Regions from separate parts of the Homo sapiens genome. Here region 1 is linked to region 2. The links are contacts of gene promoters, found by promoter capture Hi-C in blood cells and fetal thymus (Javierre and others, 2016). All regions are on one chromosome and are shown on one strand. The core of a region is centred on a gene start or on the middle of the fragment in contact, and the rest is flanking DNA. Distances in the headings are between cores, read along the strand shown.

Region 1 (7,035 bases), core at 1,600-4,099, 76 kb before region 2:
TTGTATTTTTAGTAGAGACGGGGTTTCACCATGTTGGCCAGGCTGGTCTTGACCTTCTGACCTCAAGTGATTCCCCCGCCTCAGTCGTCCAAAGTGCTGGGATTACAGGTGTGGGCCACCATGCCTGGCCTAAATTCCATCTAATGGATTTACCATAATTTACTTTCACTCTTCCCTCTGTTAGAGGTGTCTTTAGGTTGACCAGAGTTTTTACTTACCTAATATAAAAACTTGGATGAAGACTTTGGATGTCTAGATCACTTCATGTTTTGCATCTTTTTCCTTAGCATAAAATCCCATGAAGGAATAACGGACAAAGGGAAGAAGGATTTTGTGACTTGGGGATATTTAATGTTAAATGGTTTTCCAAAAGAGCTGAACCAGTTTACACAGCTGCTGAAACAGGTGAGACTGCCACATCTCACAGGCAGTAGGCATCATCACATAATTTAAATCTATTATTTGTTTCTATAAAAATGAAACAAGCATTTTGAAGACAACTCAAATGATAGAGAAAATATGAAGAGTAAAAAAAAAATACTATTAAATAGCTCTCCACCACTGCTAAACTTTTGGTAAAAAACTTTCTAAAATTCTTTCATTTAGTCATTCAACAAACATGATTGCATGGTTACAAAGTACCAGGCACTGTCTTAGGCCTCAAGGACTCAGCAGTGAAGAGCACAAAGCCCTGTCTTTGGAACTTACATTCCAGAGAAGCATAGCTTCTTTAAAACTCATCTGGGTATATTAACATGATCATTCTATACTCGCACATTTTAAACTGTGTTTTATTCATTCTACCATGTATTGTGGATATCTTGGATGACAATGGATTGACCATATAGGATTCCATTATATTTATTTCTGTTTGTTTGTTATTTTTGAGACGGATCTCACTCTGTTTGAGACGGATCTCAGGCTGGAGTACAGTGGGGTGATCTTGGCTCACTGCAACCTCCATCTCCCGGGTTCAAGCGATTCTCCTGCCTTGGCCTCCTGAGTAGCTAGGATTACAGGCACGTGCCACCAAGCCTGGCTAATTTTTGTATTTTTAGTAGAGACGGGGTTTCACCATATTGGCCAGGCTGGTCTCGAATTCCTGACCTCAGGAGATCCGCCCACCTCAGCCTCCCAAAATGCTGGGATTACAGGTGTGAGCCACCACACCCGGCCCATTATATTTCTATACCAACTTTTTCTTCATCAGTCCTTAAGTGCTGGTTGATTTGGGTTATTTTTGTTTTTTTCAATCTTATTAATATTACAGTGTCACTTATCCGTGTACATATATATTTTCACACTTAAATAGTTATTTCTCAATCTAAATCTCTAGACGTGCAATTGCTGAATAAGAGGGCATTAATATTTTATATTTTGATGTATTCTGTAAGTATTTTATGAATTATTTTCCACAAATGATATATATATCAATTTACATTGCCACTAATATTGAACAGAGAACCTGCAGGGGAGAAAAAGTAGTATCCTTTCTTCACCCATTGCGAGGTTCATAGCTGAGGCACCTATAATAAAAGATAGAATAGCAGGGCCAGGAGAGGTGGCTCACACCTGTAATCCCAGCATTTTAAGAGGCTGAGGCAGGCAGATCACGAGGTCAGGAATTTGAGACCAGCCTGGCCAGCATGGTGAAACCTCATTAGCAGGGCATGGTGGCGCACACCTGTAGTCCCAGTTACTCGGGAGGCTGAGGCAGGAGAATTGCTTGAACCCAGCAGGCGGAGGTTGCAGTGAGCTGAGATTGTGCCACTGCACTCCAACCTGGGTGACAGAGTGACACTTTGTCTCAAAAAAAATAAAATAAATAAAATAACAGAAGAAAAGCATACAAATATATTTAATATAAATTTTAGGTGACATGAGAGCCTTTGGAAATGAAGACCCAAAGAAATGAAGAAATCTGTATATTTGTAAGGTAAATTTGATGAAGAATGGACAGTTATGTAGAAGTATGATTGGTCAAAGGGGGTGTGATGTGATGGTAATAAACTGGGGGGACTTACCAAGGTCTGTGTGTTCAGATTCTTCTCTGTGTCCCTGTATCTTCATATATAAGGGATTTCTTTTCTTTGAGCATAGGGATAATATGTTTGGAATGAGGGTCTTATGACCTACCTTATAGGAAGTTCAGGGAATTCTTTTATAACTGGCTTCAAGCGAGAAGGGCACAGAGAAGATGAGAGTGACCTTCCTGCTTCTACCACTTCCTCAAAGCACAAGGTGTGATATTTTGAGATTGCGTGTCCTGAACCCCATCAGACCTGTCTCCCAATGTACTTTCATCAGCTATTTTAAGTTTTGCTAACAGTTGCTTTTCCTTTGCATTCCTTTTATGATTGGTGAGGTTAATCTTTTTTTCACATTTTACTGACCACATATATTTTCTGTTTTATGAAATTCTTGTTTGGCTTTGTCAATTCTCTATGGAATCTTTCCTCACTGACTAGTAAGCAATCTTCATATTTTAAGGATATTAACTTTGTTAATTTCCAAGTATCACAGTTTCCCCCCTCATTTATTTTTCTAAATTTTTAGGGGTTTTTCTTCAACATAAAAGCTTACAATGTTTACATAGTTAAATGTATCAGCCTGTTTACATTTGTGACAAGAATTGGATGTATGATCCAAAACTCATGTTGAAGTATAGGGGGAAACCTGTATAAATAGTCTTGTAGTTTAAATTGTATGTGACTGGTTCATTCTGGTTTCCAGTTCGTCCTAGTATAGACGCATAATCAAATTAAGGTTGCAATTGCCAGAAAATCTCAATTGCAGGGGATTCTATGACTCTTCATTATTCCAGGTGCAAATGAGCTTCAAGGTGCACAATGCCCTGCTGTCAGCCTCTCCACTCAGCACAGAGGAGACCAATTTCCAGTCAGATCTGTCTTCTTCTCTTTTTACTATCATAACCATTAATTGCTGAGGAATCAATCGAGCCCTGAACTGTGGCTGTGATTTGACTGCCCAGCTGATCAAAGCAGCTCTTTGCCCCATATTGACAACTCATTATTGAACAGTAAATTGTCCATTCCATCAATCTCTTTGTAGCCATTAACTCAATTTGACTGGATTAACTAGTTTTACAAAGCCCCTTCTTTAAGCTTGAAACCTGAGGTTTTTGTAATCTCAGGGAGGAAAAATAAATGTGTATCTTCTTGGTAGATATATATCCTGCCCCATGGAAATTAAAATGTTTGATGGAAACAGGCTATGGTGAGCTAAGGGCATACATACCTTTTCTTATTTGCTCTGGTTCTAGGGTTTATTTTAGAAAGCACTCTTTCTTCCTTTTTTTATCTGTGTTGCAAGCCCTTTGCTATTAGAACCTGGTTTTATTTCGAGATCGCACCAAGCAGGGCCCTCCTCCTTTTCAGCCTTTGTACTTTTCCTTTATGTGAGATTATATGGCTCTGAAAAGGCTGCTCTGATTTAGGGCACTGGATTCCTTCATTCTGAGCAGAGCGTCGTCAGCTCTCTGTACAGGCCCCACGGGCTGTTGATTTTGATGACTACCATGCCCACTGCATAAAACAATGTTCCTCTAAGTGTATAATTGACTTTATCTGCTTTGCTCACTTTTAATTACATGCACTTTCAGCTTTTTCATTGAATTTCAAATAATTTATGTGCGCGGCCCTGATTATAGCTTTCCTGCATATGTCCAAGATGGGTTTGTGCAGGCGGAGTTATCTCTGCTCCTGCCAGCATCCTTCCTGTTAGGCAGTTATTGATTACACCACATAGGATGGAAACTTTACATAGAGTATCCGCTTGGAACGCACAAAAATTTCAGGGTTATTGCAGCATCATGATCAATTGATGTAGCATGCTCATTTCTTCCTCACTAAATTACTCCTTTCCAAAAGAGTATTTTGAAGGAAAAAGAGTGCTTAGGAAACACTGTTGTTTCTGGAGCAGGTTGGGTAATTGCTGAGAGCAATATCAGTTTTCTTTTTCCATGACGAGAAGACACTTGCACAAGGCAGGGAGAGTGAAATGTGTCCCCCAGGATGACACACTTCATGCAACCCCACTGTTAGCATAGACCTCTTACTATGTGCTGGGGTACCAGACAGAGCAGTGGTCAGAAAATTCATGGGGTTCACATTCTGGTGGGGAAAGGGTAGAAAGAGACTGAGAAGCAATACACGATTAAATAAATTATTCAATTAGTGGCAAAATTAGTGAAGGCATGAATGCACGAATGGAATAGAAAAGGTTTTTTTTTTTTGATGAAGTGATATTTGAGGTTAGATCAAAATGATGGGCTTGGGTTAGGGTCATCTTTAAAAACAGTTACTTTGTGCCAATTTCCTTAGTTCCTTTAATAATTACCCCCCTTTGTGTATAAAATAAGTGGTGATAAAGAGGTTTTTCTAGTTTGTTTTCCTCTTTGTGGTTTGAAAATCAGCACACAGTCATCTGCAGGGCGCTAAGTATACGATCCTGGGAACATGATGTGAAAAATCAGGAACCTGCAGCTGAACCAGCGTAGCCATTGAGAAGTGGCCATCCTCCCACTTCTGGTAAATTGCCTAAAATTTACATATCAATCATGTTAACCTGTCATACCTCTAGTTCCACCCACACTCCTTCTGTAGGACTCATCCTGGGTAGACACATGACACCCAGGGAAGCAGTCTGAACTGCAAGTGATCATCTACCTGAAGCCTACAAAGTGTTGTTCCAAAGGGAAGATCTGGGACACTCAGACTTTTACTTTTCAGAATCTGAATTAGAAACTGTGGCTGGAATCACCAGCTAGTAGTGGGTGTAGACACCATAGGGTCATGAAATAGAAGGGAGGATGTTGGAGGAGAGCAGCCGGGATCTGTCAGAGATTGAATAGCAGGCTGAAATCAGGAGCAAGGAGGGGCAGGAGAAACAGAGGTATGCCTTACTGAGCAAAGGAGCCCAGAGGGAATCTGAGCAGAAGCAGACAGACAGAAAAGAACCTAGCCACAGAAAATGATGGCACACAGGGGTGGATCATCATCAGCCTATGTGGCAAAAAGACTTAGGTCAACCTTACATGCAAATCCAGCAGCAAAACCATCTTTACAACACCAATTCATGCTACTATTCCTGCTCTTCCCAACTCTTTGAGTTTACGCCTCTTGCCTTCGCTGACGTCACACCCTATTTTCTTGAGTACTAATATTCCAGTGTTTTTAATCACTTGTTAAATTATCCTCACAATAAATACTAGTCACTTGCAGTCTCATAGGGAGTCTCCGACCCTAAGAAGAACAATTACCTGCAATTTAACAACAATACCCATGCATTCACCCTTTGACCCAGCAATCCTGCTTCTGGGAACTTATCCTGAAGCTACACCTCCAAAAATTCAAAAATACCCATGCACAAGGTTATTCATTGCAGTATTGTTTAAAATTGTAAAATACTGGTAACAACTTAAATGCCCAAATATAGGAAAATGGTTGCATACACAATGGTACATAACACATGATGGGGTATTATGCAGCTGTAAAAAATAATAAAGAAATAAATAAAGAAAATGTTCATGAGCTGATATGGAGCAATTTCCAGAAATCAAATGCAATTATTTAACAACAAAAATGATAAAGAGGACTAGAGGAGAGACACTATAAAAGCAAAAATTCAAAGGAACCACTAGAATATGGAATATCGAAAGAAAAACAAAAGAAGGGTGAGTCTCTGATTTGTGTAAGCAAACAAGTGAAATTAAGACACAGCCACAGAGCACTATGGTAACACATGCAGCAAGTACACTGCAATTTCTTAAGATAAACTTGAAGAAACTACCCTGCACATATTGAAACAGCACTGTCTCAACCACCCGCTGATGGAGCAAAGCATAGGAACAAGAAAGTGAACATTGGGAAAGAATTAACCAGTAAACATTTAAACAAGAGGTGTGGTCTAATCATGGGACGAATCAGAACCGTATTGGACTTCCTATCACTCATCTGTACTACTTAGTACTGTTTTTATTTTAACTAATTAATTAATACTTTTTTGGAGATAGCGTTTTGCTCTGTCGCCCAGGCTGGAGTGCAGTGGAGCGATCTCAGCTCACTGCAGCCTCGACCTCCTGGGATCAAGTGATTCTTCCACCTCAGCTCCCTAGTAACTGGGATTACGGGGGTCACCACCACACCCGGCTTTTTTGGGTAGTTTTTGTAAAGACGAGGTCTCGCTATGTTGCCTAGGCCGGTCTGGAACTCCCAGCCTCAAGCAATCCACCTGCCTCTGCCCCCTAAAGTTCTGGGATTACAGGTGTGAGCCACTGCGCCTGGCCTGTTTTTATTTTGAAAAAAAAAAAAAAAAAATTTTTTTTTGTTTTTTGCAAGGTGCACAGGAGGTTGGTGGGTGGGTGAGCTCGACGGTTTCGGGTTACAGAGGTTTCGAACCCATCCCTCTTCTCGTGCTGCGATTTTTGCTTATTCACAGCCCCTTTCCTCGGAAAAGCCCAGAAGTGTTTCAAGTGGTGACCAGCAGAGGGCAGCAGTATCCACCGCTTCCCGCAGAGCACGGCGTGCGGAGGTAGACTGTCTTCCGGTCCCACCCGGAGATGGGGAATTCTAGGCCAGGTGGGTGTGACGACGTGCAGCCCTAGCGAAGGACAGGGGTGCACGACAGAGGCACTGGATGGTAAGCACAGCATTTTCTAAATCTCACAGGAGAAAAATCACTGAAAAAAACCACTGGTGTAAAAGCTGAGTCTGTCCTTTGAACCGCTGCCCTGATTTTAGTTACAAATGAAGCAAAAAATCCTTAAAGATCCATATTCCTAAATTTAGACCTTGACCTCAAAGATCGCCTCGGAAAATATACAAATCATTGTTTCCTTCATTTAGTCAACTATCTATTGATTTGATCCCTACTTCCTGTTCAACTCAGCATCCCTTGTCATGGGCAAAAAAAGTGAATGGACTCAGACCATTGAAACAAATAAACTTAATCTTGGTTAGAAAAATTCCAAGTCAATGAATTTTAAAAAGTGAGTTAGTATCATACCAATTTAAG
Region 2 (7,539 bases), core at 4,920-7,419:
GCCACTTTTGACATTCTCTCCATAAAAAATACTAGAAAATGTTAACTACTATACTGAAAAGAGATCACGCTCACCTCACCATGGCAGATGGCCACTGAGATACACCGGGCACTACATCGACAGTACATCTCACTACAGGTGGGTCATCCGATGGATTATTTCAACTGCCACAATCCATTAAGGGGAGGAGGAGGATGGAAGAAACCAAGTGCTTCATTTTTAACTGAAGCAAGGTAGGGAGTTTTATTTTACTATAAACAGCACAACCGTTAAATGTCTTCATTAAGCAAACTCACTTTTGAGCCCATTTTCTGACCAACAGTCCTCAAAGTTCAAAATGGAAATACCCTCCCAACAAAGCCTGTTTTTTTAAAGACATTGCACCACTGAAATCTCAGCAGCTCAACCTTCCTGGGTAATCCAGATACTCTGGTTACTAAGCTGGTTACACTGGACTCTTTCTACAATCTCTGGGAGCTCTTCGAGGTGGTTGTCACCTGTCCTCTGTTTCATTTCCAGTTCTTCTTTTCCCTGACCTGCCTTCAGATTCTCCTTTAACTTCTACCCTTGACCTGCCTTCTGTTTTCAAATAGCCTTGTTCCTTCTCCAGGCATGACATGTCACACACCGTCCCTCGCAGAGCCCCCTCAGAATCCTTCTGTCCCTCAATCCCAAATGCTTAAGTTCATTTGCTTTGAGGACAACCGGTTGTCAGGCTAAGGCAGCAGTTCTGTCTGCCTTGGTAAAGGAAAGCAGATAATACAATCCAGGAAACATGAGCACCAGAACATAATGCCACATTCAAAACAACGTCATGCTGACATCACACAATGGCACCACTCACAGTCACTTTTACTTTCCCCAAGGGATAGATCAACATTAAGTAACTTCAACATTCCCAGCAGGGATGGCATTTCTCACAGAATTTTACTGACACCGGTTGGTTTCTCTAATTGGCAAAAATTACATTTGCAATTTAAAAAAAAATTACTACCACTTTGTAGAAAATAAATTCTACTGAGGGTGGGAGCAGACTTAAGGATGGCTCCTTAAGATGGAACGGAGCATAAAATGCTTTGGGTCTAACAGTTATGTTTTTTCAGCCACAAAAAGCCAAATTGAATATGTTCCTTTGAAAAAGGTCTCACTGACATGTAACAAATTTGTATAGAAAAAAAAAAAAAAAAAAAAAAGGTGGTACCGGGCCACATTTCAATACTACTCAGAGACAATGGTGGATGTGCATGCAAGTCCCCACTGAGTCCTACGATATAGAAATTCCTTTGATATTACAAAATACAAAAATATTTTATCAGAACTCTCATTTACATTGCATTTACAATGGACATGTAAATAACTTAGTCTTGGGTCCTGGCTAATAAACAAATTACTTACTGAAAAAAGGGTCCTAAAAGTAAGAGAACCAGAGAGGATAAAAGCGAGCAGGAAACAATTTACCATCTTGAGAGATGGCAACTCAACACAGAACTGATGGGAAGGAAGTGACCAAGCCTGGCCTCGATAGAGTCTACTGTGTTTCCAAAGTGAAATGTGCAAATAATATTCAACATGCCAAGAACTGTGACTACCTATTGAGTCAACCTGTAACCTTGCCTCCATCTACTGACAGCATTTTCCCTTTTCTCCCCCATAAGCCACCCCCAAAAGCGCTTTAACATTTAAAACAGTGCAAGTTTCTGACTTTACATTCTTAGCTCCCATCTTCTCCCATTCCCTGATCCCAATCATATTAAGAAATGATACAGTTTTTGCTCTTCTGTCTTTTCCTGCTGTGCAACTGTCCTCTGCCACCTAATGTGGAAGATTTGGGGAGGCCGTAGGAGCTGTATTTGTGCAGCAGCTCATCGCTTGTGACGTATCGCAGGCGCGCTGGCTGGGGGATGGGTTCTCCTAGGAAATAGCCCTCGTTGTCAGACTCTGAAGAGGAGGAGCAGGTGGAACACCAATCATACTCGGCGAAGTAGGGTCCCCAGCGGTCCCCAAAGGCATTCTGCAAAGCCAGGTCCGACACAGTCCTAGGGCACTGGCCGTACAGGTCCCTCCGGGACCCATGCCCCATGCTCTCCTGGAAGCTCCGCTGGCGCATAAATTGGTCATAGTCCTCCCTGGCTCTCAGAGGGGGCCTATCTTTTAACCGGGAGATGGCCTCGCGTTCGCTGGCCAGGTGGAGGGCGTTGTCGGAGCGAGAGCGTCGGGAACGCCTGGACCTGTGAGGTCGGAAACGGCGGTTGTCGTCGCGTGAAGTAGCTCTTCTCCGGGTGCGTTCACTCATGGGCTGGATCCTCACGCCCTCCTGCCCTGGCAGCTTGCTGCCCGCCATCCCTCCATCAAAATCAAAGCTCTGATGCATCCTTCCGTGGGACTGCAGGTCTCTGTAGCCAATGGGGTTGCTGAGCTGGTGGAGGTTTCCCTCCATCTCCTGGTACTGCTGGGCAGAGAGCAGGCTGCGAACTGACTCTGCGCTCCGGAACTGCATGGACGAGTTAAGAGTGCCCATGTTGCTCAGCTTCTCAGACACATTCATTCCAGAGTCTTTGCTGAGGTCAGGCATGGAAAATCGGGATAGGTGCTCCTGGCGCTTGGCACCACCATCAGCAGAGAGGCCTGGGGAAGAGAGGAGGGGACCACAGAGATTAATACAGATGTGCAGCAATGGGTATCACTGTCACTGCTGGTCATCTATCTAGGGTCATTATATACCGTTGTGAAGTTGTGTACTGCACAAAGGCCCTCTCAGGGGGCACATGTGCCTGTGAGGGGGTTCTCTCCACTCCACAGTAGGTCACTATCTACCTAGAGGGGGCACTTACTTAAAATGCTTCCAGAGATGTATTTTACCAGTTACTAGTTCCTCCAAAGGCTCATCAAAGTTACTAAGAGCCCACTGTGTATCCTATGTATGATGCTTCCTCTATTTGGAGTTTCACTTTGCAAAGTACTTTAATTACATTTTTGATTCTAATCATGCACTATAAGCTCTGTAGGACAGATATTTTGGATGAGCAAACTTTAAGCTCTAGAGGCTGGATCATGCCCAAGCTGTTTCTGGCAATACCAAACACTGGTTCCACAATATTGGGCCAGTTCACTTCTCTGTTAGCCCGCAGCAGTTTCCTGCTTTGCCTGCTGTCCCTAAGTGGCAGGTGGCTCCCTATCAAAAGTGTCTTGGACACTAAGTGACTCCCTAGATATAGATAGAGAAATATTTACTCTCTCAGACCATTCAGTGAATGCTCCAAGGTTGTAAATGGGTCTCTAGCAGCCAGAAGATGTGTGTGGGACCCCAAGGGACCTCTCGGTCGCACGGGGAGGGACTTTCAAAAGTAAAGCAGTGGGTTTGATGCTCTCAAACAGTGGGTGCCCCAGCAATGGACCTCCATTTCTTAACTGCTGTCAAATGAGCTCTTGGCATCCCTGAGATGAAAACCATTTTGAAGGTAGTGGGAGATACTGACTGCAGTAACTTCCATTTTGCTCATTTTCAGGCAGAGCTCTCTAAGGAGATGTTTAAGAATGGGCCAGGTGGCAAAGTCTCAGCATTTTCCACTCATTACATATTGCAAGGATCAGCAATTTGCCATTCCTGGTCATAGACAACATGCCTTTGGATTGCAATGGCCCATTATCACCCCTGCTACTGATTATTCCTGTCTCCTACTGGGGCCTCCAACTTCCTCTTCCGTGACAAAACCTAAAGCAGTGTTACGAGCACTTTGCAAAATTACTTGGCAATATTTACTAAAGCTAAATACACATATACGTATATGAATTATAAATAAAGCCGCTCTGAATATCCTTGGCCATTTTTTGTGGACTTATGAATTTCTGTTGGGTGTACGACCAAGAGTAGAAATTCCACAATTCTCCATCTTCACTCTTGATTATATATTCATCAGAAGTTAGTAAGAAGGTCCAAGAAATGGACAAGGGTACTCAGAGAAGCTTTCTTGTAATAGCCCAGAAACGGAAACAACTCAAATGTCAATTATCAGGAAAATGGATAAATATATTGTGGTTTTTTCTACCATTCCCCACTAAAAGGAATCCAGGCTCTTTAGAAAGATGGCCAATTCCAGGATAAAGGCAAGGAAATTAAAAGAACCAGGATCTTGTTATGCCATAAAGTGAGAAAGTATTAAAAATAAGATATGGCAGGGGTTTGTCAGAAGGACACAGGGCCTAACTTGAAGGGGCCCCCACTGGCCAAATCTGAACAATTTGAGCACTCAAATATTTAAGTGAAGTAATGATTTATAAACCACTGAAACAAATAGGAATTCACAAGTCCATGCTGATAGCAGATAAATAAAAACATAAATAAATACACAAACAGGGAAAAGAGAGGGCTCTATGTATAGTGGAATGCCAACCGCTGTCAGTAGAGTAAGTTCACAAGAAGGAAGGGGGTGCCAGATTTGGAAAGTCATTTTATAACCATTGGAGGTAGAGTGCTTCACACAAGAATCAAAAAGTGTGCTAAATTTAGGGGGTAAAATTTGATGGGGGAGAGCATTGTTTTAAAGTGTTTCCCTACACATTGCTTATTAGTTGCAAGGGAAGAATTAGTAACTAAACAAAGGTAAAATCAGACAACACCTTGACCTTAAGTTCAAACTTAACATCCCTGGTGAGATGCAACTGCACCCTGCATGCCTCCAGTTGAGATGTACTCAGAAGGGCACACTATCCCTTATGTAGTATTCCAGTCAAGAATGTATTACCCGAATGCATTCAGGAGGAAACATTAGACAGATGCCAAAAGGAGGGACATTTGTTATGAAAAAAGGGACTGTAGTCTTAAGACCAGACAAGACTGAGAGAATGTTCTAGATGAAAGGGTACGAGGGAAACATGGCAATTACATATAATACCTGATCCTGGACTGGAACCTGCTCTTTAGGGAAACTAAATGCTATAAAGTAGGGGTTCCCAGACCTCAGGCTACAGACTGGTTAGGAGCAGGGCCACACAGAAGGAGGTGAGTGGTCAGTAAGGGAAGCTTCATCTGCATGTACAGCCACTCCCCATTGCTCCAACTACTGCCTGACCTCTGCCTCCTGACAGATCAGCAGCAGCATTAGACTCTCATAGGAGTGTAAACCCTGTTGTGAACTGCTCATGCAGGATCTAGGTTGTGTGCTCCTTACGAGAATCTCATGCCTGATGATCCATAACTGTCTCCCATTACCCCTAGATGGGACTGTCTAGTTGCAGGAAAACAAGCTCAGGTCTCCCACTGACTCTACCTTAAAGTGAGTTGTGTAATTATTTCAGTATATATTACAATGTAGTAATAATAGAAATAAAGTACATAATAAATGTAATGCACTTGAACCATCCCAAAGCCATCCCCACCCCCTGGCCCCAGTCTGTGGAAAAATTATCTTCCATAAAACCGGTCCCTGGTGCCAAAAAGGTTGGGGACTGCCTCTATAAAGGATAACTTTTGGTCAACTGAAAAAAAAATGGAACATGGGCAATAGATAAAAGTATTATGCTAAATTTACTGTGGTCAATTAATAATGGTGATAATGTGGGAGAAGATCTTTACTCTTGGGAAATATATATGGAAGGATATGGTGGTAAATGGCCCAGATGGATGCAATTTGCTCTCAAATGGTTTATAAATAAAATGTGTGTGTGTGTGCGTGTGTGTGCATGCATGTGAACATGAAAGAACAAATGTGGCAAAAGGTTAACAATGGATCAATCTACGTAAAGAGTACATTACAGGTGTTGTTTGTTCTATTTTTATAACTTTTTTTAAGTCTGAAATTATTTCCAAATAAAAAGTTTCTTTAACATTAGAATATATTCATCTGATATGATGGTTTTTAATTCTGAAGGAAATTTGGAAACATCTGGACACATTTTTGGTTGTCACTATTAGGATGGGATTCTCCTGGCGTCTAGTAGGTAGAGGCCAGAGATGTTGCTAAACATCCTACAGTGTGAAGGATGGCTTCCTTGCCTCCACACAGAATTTTCCAAACCAAACTGTCAACAGTCTCAGAAGAAACCCTGATAAAATGGAATATTACACAATAATGAGAACGAATAACTACACCCAAGAACATGGATGTATCTCATAGAAAATGCTTGGACATGCAAAAAGAATATGTGCTGTATGATTCCATTTATATGAAGTTCAAGAACAGGCTGAGGCTATCTATAGTGATACAGGTCAGGGCAGTGGGAGGAGGGGGTATGAAGAAGGCTTCTAGGGCACTGCAATTGTTCTATAACTAAATCTGGATGGTGGCTGTAAAACAATACACATGTGTAAAAATTCACTGAGATGTAGTTTTAATATTGGTTTGCTTTATTCTGTGTAAATTATATCTCAATAAAATGGAGTAAAAGTAAAGCAACGTTTGGCCAGGTGTGGTGGCTCATGCCTGTAATCCCAGCACTTTGGGAGGCCAAGGAGGGTGGACTGCTTGAGCTCAGGAGTTCAAGACAAACCTGGGCAACATGGTGAAACCCTGTCTCTACTAAAAATACAAAAATTAGCTGGGCATGGTGGTGCGTGCCTGTAGTCCCAGCTACTTGGGAGACTGAGGTGGCAGTATCACCTGAGCCCAGGAGGTGGAGGCTGCAGTGAGCCGAGATTGTGCAACTGTGCTCCAGCCTGGGCAACAGAGCGAGCCCCTGTCTCCAAAAAATAAACAAATAAATAAATAAAAAATAAAACAATGTTTGTTAAAGGGTCAAATTTTAACATTGGATATGCCTATAAAGAAATTAATCAGCTAAATATCATATACTCCAGTAATTTTTTGTTTCAATTTCGTTCCTGGGATAACTGTCAGGGCAATAGCAGCTGGGGCCTCCAATCGCTTGCTTACTCTGCTGCTTATCTCTTACATACAAATCATAAAAGCCGATTTACAACAGCCTAATCACTTCCAGAGCCTCCCCAATATGAAAGCAGAGAGGAGAGGATAACAACCTAAGATGATGAATGAGTGGTTTGAGTGGATGAACTCTAGTAAGAAAGGAAAGAAAACATCTTCAAACTCATGTCTAGAAACAAAAGGTGGACACAATGATCTTTGCAGGGCTTTCCAACCTAGCTCTTGAGTAGAATTAGGGTCAGCATAAATAACTTAGCAAATACTATTAATTCCCCAGCATGCTGTTTTCCCGAACCTGTCTTTCATAAGCCCAGAAGTGAAATGTTTTTGAGAGCATCCTGCTTGTGAACAGATTCCTATTTCCGTGAGGAGGTGACCTCGAAGAAGAGCAGCTTCTATTCTGCTGGGAGGTGTACTGCCTTCTGGTATCAGGCTTCTGCATCCCGGGAAAGCTCGGGATAACCTGAGGCACCCCCTTGAAAAACAAAAGAGCTTGATCAGAGCAGGAGGGTCCTGTTGCACAAGCCCAGCATCTACTATCAGTTTCACCTAAATGTAAGCCATTCATTCCCCTGGACTATGTGTGGGTGGGACTGGAAATACTACCTGCTCACTCTAGAGAGGAGAAATGCCTCTCTTCTGATTCATTAACTCAGATTTT

Evidence for each region. Contacts are between HindIII fragments. The CHiCAGO score rates a contact against its expected background, and 5 or more counts as called.
Region 1: a contact is called between a fragment that was not itself captured here and the fragment with the promoter of PRICKLE2-AS2 in region 2, in 1 of 17 cell types (megakaryocytes). The highest score is 5.6, in megakaryocytes.

What each region holds. Positions count from the first base shown.
Region 1 is chr3:64,024,338-64,031,372 of GRCh38, forward strand. It overlaps LOC105377121 (a long non-coding RNA gene), which reads left to right. Exons shown (of 3, transcript XR_940906.3): 2 at 288-405; 3 at 1,875-2,023. Among named protein-coding and RNA genes, the nearest start is that of PSMD6, 4.4 kb to the left of the region's middle. The HindIII fragment of the contact is 547 bases long and covers 2,577-3,123 here.
Region 2 is chr3:64,097,301-64,104,839 of GRCh38, forward strand. PRICKLE2-AS2 (PRICKLE2 antisense RNA 2) reads left to right here and starts at 6,170. Exons shown (of 4, transcript NR_046701.1): 1 at 6,170-6,204; 2 at 7,193-7,433. PRICKLE2 (prickle planar cell polarity protein 2) reads right to left here. Exons shown (of 8, transcript NM_198859.4): 8 at 1-2,625. The coding sequence ends at 1,751. PRICKLE2-AS1 (PRICKLE2 antisense RNA 1) reads left to right here. Exons shown (of 3, transcript NR_045697.1): 3 at 1-5,831. The HindIII fragment of the contact is 2,788 bases long and covers 5,019-7,539 here.